Linked DNA regions of Homo sapiens: region 2 is linked to region 1. Evidence: promoter capture Hi-C in 16 types of primary human blood cells and fetal thymus (Javierre and others, 2016). All regions are on one chromosome and are shown on one strand. Each heading gives the region's core, a stretch centred on a gene start or on the middle of the fragment in contact. The rest is flanking DNA. Distances are from core to core; before and after follow the strand shown. Region 1 holds the start of NDUFS7 (NADH:ubiquinone oxidoreductase core subunit S7). Region 2 holds the start of TCF3 (transcription factor 3).

Region 1 (2,920 bases), core at 178-2,677:
TGTGAGCCACCATGCTGGGCCCCTCCAATCCTTTTGAGCTGCCCAAGAACAGAGACCAGGCCTGGCTTTGCTCAGCAGTGGGTCCCCAGCCCATGGCACGAATTCAGTAAACACTTGTTGTGGTCCTCAAGGGGCCCCCAGTCTTGCTAGTCACCTGTGTTCACCTAATTTGAGCCTCTGTTTTCTTTACTTTTTCTTTTTCTTTTTTCTTTTTTTTTTTTTTTTGAGATGGAGTCTCACTCTGTCGCCCAGGCTGGAGTGCGGTGGCACGATCTCAGCTCATTGCAACCTCCGCTTCCCGGATTCAAGTGATTCTCTTGCCTCAGCCTCCCGAGTAGCTGGGATTTAGATACAGGGTTTCACCATATTGGCCAGGTTGGTTTTGAACTCCTGACCTCAGGTGATTTGCCTGCCTCAGCCTCCCAAAGTGCTGGGATTACAGGCGTGAACCACCGCACCGGCCTTTGCCTCTGTTTTTGTAATCATAAAACAGGCAGACAAAACCTCCAGTGGAATTGTGAAAATTAAATGATATGCATGCAGAAAGCGTTCTGCAAACTCTGTTTTGCTAGTTTGGGTGTTTAGTGTTAGTTTTTATATCATTAGTACTGGTTGTAAACTTATCAATTTAAGCAAGATGGAAAATCGAGGGTGTGTCAGGGAAGGGGGAAGTTTGAGCTGAAATTATGACCTCTTAGGGGTGGGAAGAGGAGGCTTTGGGGTTGTGAGGTCTGAGCCCCCTTACTTTGGGATGAGTCCACATCGCGGCGACTCCTCTGCAGAATGCGGTGATGTTGCGGTAAGGGGTCCGGGATAGCTGCGAGGCAGCTGGACCAATCCTGAACGAAAGACATCAGTGATCGCAAGAGGCGCTAAAACTTCTGCCGAAACCCGGGATCGAACCAGGGACCTTTAGATCTTCAGTCTAACGCTCTCCCAACTGAGCTATTTCGGCTGGGCGGCAGAGTCGCTCTCGCCGGGACTCCGTCCCGCGCTGCGCCTTCCCTGCGCAGGCGCAGTCGTTTCGCGTCAGCAGGCCCCACATCCTTTGTAAGGTCTCCCAGGGCGCCGGAGCGCAGTGTCGTCTCTGTGGCGCAATCGGTTAGCGCGTTCGGCTGTTAACCGAAAGGTTGGTGGTTCGAGCCCACCCAGGGACGCGTGGTGACTTTTGCCCTCCTGGAATAACAAGAAAATGAGTGTCGCCTCTGTTTTTGTCGGTCCGCCGCAGACCCGCGGCCCCCACGTGCGCACTCCGATGACCTTTCCGCCTCGGGTGATCTGGGGGTGCACGGCGCAACACGACCACGGAGGCCGAAAGCGCAGCGGAACCTCCCGGCTCCAGGTTCCGGTTTCCGCATGCGCTCCGAGCCGCTTTGGGCGGCGGCCCCGGGAACCCGGAGCGCTAAGGAGAACGGACCTCAGAGGTTGTCTGAAGGCCGAGGCCAAGATGGCGGTGCTGTCAGGTGAGCGCGGCACCGGCGGCGGGTGTGGGGCCGCGCGGGTCTGGGGCCGTGGGAGCCTCGGGTGTCGTGGTGGCGTCGGGGGTCGGTGCCGGCGTCGTGGCCGCGGTCCTCTCCGGGCTTCTCCGAGCCGGCCGCTCCTCGGGCTCCCCGCCCGGCTTGCGATGAACGGTCGCCGTTATTGCGTCCAGAGTACAGTCGGGGAAACCGAGGCCCGGTAGGTCATGACGCAAGCCTCCAGCCTCAGGAAGGCGCTCGGGGTGGAGGCTGGAGGGGCCCCATTCACGTCCCCGAGACCAGGGCACGGCCCGCGAGGCTGCTCTTGAGATGCCCTGGAGAGAGCGGGGCCTGCCTGACAGGCTGGGAAACTGAGGCCCATTGAGGGTCTTCGAGGTCACAGGGCCGGGCCTGGGAAGGAACAGGACCCAGGACATCCACGCCACCCTGCTGGACCCTCCACCTCCCTCCCCACCCCTGGGAGGTAAGGGCCTCTCGCAGAGCCTGTCCTGCTCCAGGGACTTTTTTGGGATCAGCTGAAGCCTGCGGACCTCTGCTCAGATAAAGTTATTAAATGCATGGAATAAAATCCATAGAATTGCAAGGAAATCAGTTACACGGAGAGGCAGTTATTAAAAGATTGTCTTGAAACCTGATTGGCGACTTAGTAATCTAAGTGCTTCCCTTATGAACGCGATCTAGCGGCAGGTCTAATTGCGACTGTGATTTGGAAGGAGTGAGGAGTGGAAATGAGGCTTTGATGATACGGAAACGTCTGCAGCCCCTGCACCATAGCTAGGAAACATCTGTGATTCCGCTTGGTGAAAAGTTACAGGTCCTGCTAATACTGCCGTATTTTGTTGTCTATGCTAAGAATTTTTTATTTATTTATTAAGACAGGGTCTGCCTCTGTCGCTCAGACTGGAGTGCAGTGGTGCCATCTTGGCTCATCACTGCAACCTGTGCCTCCCAGGCTCAAGCGATTCTGGCACTTCAGTGTCCTGTGTAGCTGGGACCACAGGTGTGCGCCACCATGCCTGGCTAGTTTTTGTATTTTTAGTAGAGATGGGGGTCTTGCCCTGTTGCCCAGGCTGGTCTCGAACTTCTGAGTTCAAGCAATCCTCCCACCTGAGCCTCCCAAAGTGCTGGGAGCCACGGCACCCAGCCTACGCTAAGAATTGAATGAAGGGCTAATTTTCCATAAGATGCTGGTGACAACAAAGACATATATATTTTTTTATTCCAAGCAAATTCACAGTTCTGAATCCTCACCAGGCCCCTTGTTAAGAATGCCTGGCCCACGCGCGGTGGCTCACGCCTGTAATCCCAGCACTTTGGAAGGCCAAGGTGGGCGGATCACCTGAGGTCCGGAGTTCGAGACCAGCCTGGCCAACATGGAGAAACCCCGTCTCTACTAAAAATACAAAATCAGCTGGGTGTGGTGGCGCATGCCTGTAATCGCA
Region 2 (2,920 bases), core at 193-2,692, 270 kb after region 1:
AGGTACAGAGAAAAATTTCCATTCCAAAGAAATGCACTCCAGGCCCCTCCAGTCTCGACTTTCCCCAGGGGTCCCCAGGTGGGGACGGGGGCAGCCCGGGAGACACCTCCGAGGCTGGGGGTGGGGAGGAGCCTCCGAGGTCGAGGGAGACCCAACTTCAGAAGCAGAGAAATCCCCTCTTTGTCTGCCAACTGGAGGCCGGGTGTGAAGCGGGCGCCCCAGCGCAGCCCCTCCCCCGCTCAGTTTTTTTCTTTTTTGGAGGGCGTGTGAAACTGACTTTTTTTGAGGACTACGAAACCGCACTTTTTTGTGGGGTAGCTGAAACCGATTTTAAGACAGACTTAGTTGGGGGGGTGGCGAGCTAAAACGGGCATTCTACGGGAGCTGGAAGACTTCTGGGGCGTCCCAAGGACTTTGAGAGACTTGGAGAATGTTTGAAGCCACTTTGCACGGCGCCGAAGGCGGGGGGCGCGCTGGAACGCCTTTTTCCCGGGGGGAGGCGGCCCGGGAAGCCGGACCCCCCTCCCCCCGCAGCCGGTGCAGGCGGTGCGGCCCGGGAGCCTTTGAAGCTCGCAGCGCGGCCGCCGCCTCGCCCCGCATTAACGCGGAGCAGATGTTACCCGCGCGCCCCCCCCCGGCCCGCCCGGCCCCGACCAGCGCCTGCAGCGCGCGGCACCTTCCCCGCGCAGACAAAAGGACGTCCCTCCCGCGCGCTCCCCACCCCAAACTCCGGCGCCCGGGCCGGGCCCCCCTCTACCCGAGAAAGGGGGCGCCCCGGGGTCCCCGTGCGCCCGGGCTGGGGGGGACGGTCCTCGCGCCTAAGTTGCACAGCCCGTCCGGCGCCCCCCGCGCCCCCGCCCGGGGCTGCTTAAAGTTTCCCGAAGTGCCCGGCCCGACGGGGGCGACGCGGGCCTGGCGAGCTCCGGGCTCCTCCACGTCGCCGCCCCCCCGGCGCCGCGCGAAGTTGGAGAACAATGACTCCCGGGCCGCGGGGCGCCCCCCGACACCGCCCCCGCCCCAACTTCCTCCGCGCCCCCCCCCAACAAGCGCGCGCGGGGCGGGCCGGGGTTCCCTGGGCACAAAGCACGGGGGTACCGGGCGCGCCCCCCGCCCCCCGCCGGGCTCACCTGCTGGGCGCGGCCGGGCACGCGGCGCGTGGGGGGGGGCGGCGGCATGAAGCGGGGGGGCCCCCCCCCGGACAAAGGTGCGTCGCGGCCGGGCCCCCGAGGGTCGCGCGTGGGCGGCGGCGGCGGCGCGCGTGGCCCGGGCCCCTCCCACCCCCGCGTGGCCCGTCCCGCGGGGCCCGTGCGCGCGGCCGGCCGGGGCGCCCCTGGGGCAGCGGCGTGCGCGGTGCCCGCGGTGCCCGCCGCCGCGTCGGCTCCGGCCCGCTACGCCCGCAGCCGCCGCCGCTGCCTCATCTTCCTGCGGCGGGAGACATGTTCCGCCCCCCGCCCGCGCCGCCCCGCCCCGCCCCGTGCAGGCCCCGCCCCTGCCCCGCCCCCGAGTGCCCCGCCCGGCGGCCCACGCGGATCCCTCCGCCACCTCCGGGCGGCTCGGGCCCGAACGCCCTAGCTCGGCCTCTCGAGCACCCTCGTGAGGACCCCGAATCCCGTGAGGTCCAGAGCCTGGGAGCGGGGACGCGCAGAGGAGGCGGTCGGGCCACGGCGCGGGGAGAAATCACGGACTATCCCCGTCCGCGGAAGCACACACGAGCTGTGCGCTTAGTCCATGACGCAAGCGAGTAAGGCCCGTGAGATTGAAAGCTAAGGCAGAGCAGTCTGGTCAATCGGAAGCCGCGAAAGTCTGATGGGCGGGGATCCTAGCCATTCGTGGTGAGGCCCCGCCTCCTTTCTTCTCGGCCCCGCCCCTCAGCAGAGGCGGGACTCTGCGAGCGAGAGGCCGCGAGAGGCGGCCGGGGTGGGTCCTGGAGTTTTGTTCTCAGGTTGGCGTGGCCGCCCGCGCGGAGCCTTCTGCTTGGTTATATTTGCGTTCCTCGGGCCGGCCCCGCGTGCTGAGTGGTGCGAGCGGGTATCACGGCCCCGAGGGGGCTACGTCAGACCCATTTTCCCGGCGGGAAAACCGACTCTGGCTCCGGCTCTGGGTCAGAGAGCCCCGCGGGGAGTCTCAGCGGTGCCTTTGCCGACTTGAGTCTCCGTCTCGGCATCTGTGAATTTGGACCTGACTTTGGACAGAACTCAGGCCAGATCTGGCTTCCTGATTCTTAGTAGTCCGTGTCTACATTTTAGTAAAAAGTGACCCCGCCTAGGATCGGGCGCCGTGGCTCCTGCCTGTGATCCCAGCGCTTTGAAGGAGGCCGAGGCGGGAAGATCGCTTGAGGCCAGGAGTTCGAGAACAGCCTGAACAACATAGTGAAACCCCCCCCACCCACACCCGTCTCTAAAAATATTTAAAATAATTTAAAATAATAATTTAAAAAGTTGACCGGACGCGGTGGCCCACGCTTGTATTCCCAGCACTTTGGGAGGCCAAGGCGGGCAGATCACCTGAAGTCAGGAGTTCGAGACCTCTCTGGCCAACACGGTGAAACCCCATCTCTACTAAAAATACAAAAATTAGCCGGGCATGGTGGCGGGCACCTGTAGTCCTAGCTACTCGGGAGGCTGAGGCAGCAGAATCGCTTTCACCCGAAAGGCGGAGGTTGCAATGAGCCGAGAGCACGCCATTGTACTCCAGCCTGGGCAACAAGGACGAAACTCCGTCTCAAAATAAATAAATAAATAAGTAAAATAAAATAAAAATACAAAAATTAGCTGGGCGTGGTGGCATACACCTATAATCTCAGCTACTCGGGAAGCTGAGGCAGGAGAATCGCTTAAACCCAGGAGGCAGAGGTTGCAGTGAGCAGAGATCGCAGCACTGCACTCCAGGCTGGGCGACAGAACGAGGCTCCGTCTCAAAA

The links. Contacts are between HindIII fragments. The CHiCAGO score rates a contact against its expected background, and 5 or more counts as called.
Region 2: the fragment with the promoter of TCF3 here is called in contact with the fragment with the promoter of NDUFS7 in region 1 in 5 of 17 cell types (neutrophils, erythroblasts, M0 macrophages and 2 more); the score reaches 5.5 in neutrophils.

What each region holds. Positions count from the first base shown.
Region 1 is chr19:1,382,480-1,385,399 of GRCh38, forward strand. NDUFS7 (NADH:ubiquinone oxidoreductase core subunit S7) reads left to right here and starts at 1,428. Exons shown (of 8, transcript NM_024407.5): 1 at 1,428-1,463. The coding sequence starts at 1,448. It overlaps TRF-GAA1-6 (tRNA-Phe (anticodon GAA) 1-6), which reads right to left and starts at 955; the gene lies at 883-955. It overlaps TRN-GTT2-6 (tRNA-Asn (anticodon GTT) 2-6), which reads left to right and starts at 1,084; the gene lies at 1,084-1,157. RefSeq lists silencers at 798-927, 1,108-1,247, 1,498-1,557. The HindIII fragment of the contact is 18,765 bases long and covers 1-2,920 here.
Region 2 is chr19:1,651,173-1,654,092 of GRCh38, forward strand. It overlaps TCF3 (transcription factor 3), which reads right to left and starts at 1,443. Exons shown (of 19, transcript NM_003200.5): 1 at 1,128-1,443. RefSeq lists silencers at 362-481, 462-684, 492-721, 812-891, 1,422-1,551 and 1 more and enhancers at 1,902-1,951, 2,072-2,181. The HindIII fragment of the contact is 10,400 bases long and covers 1-2,920 here.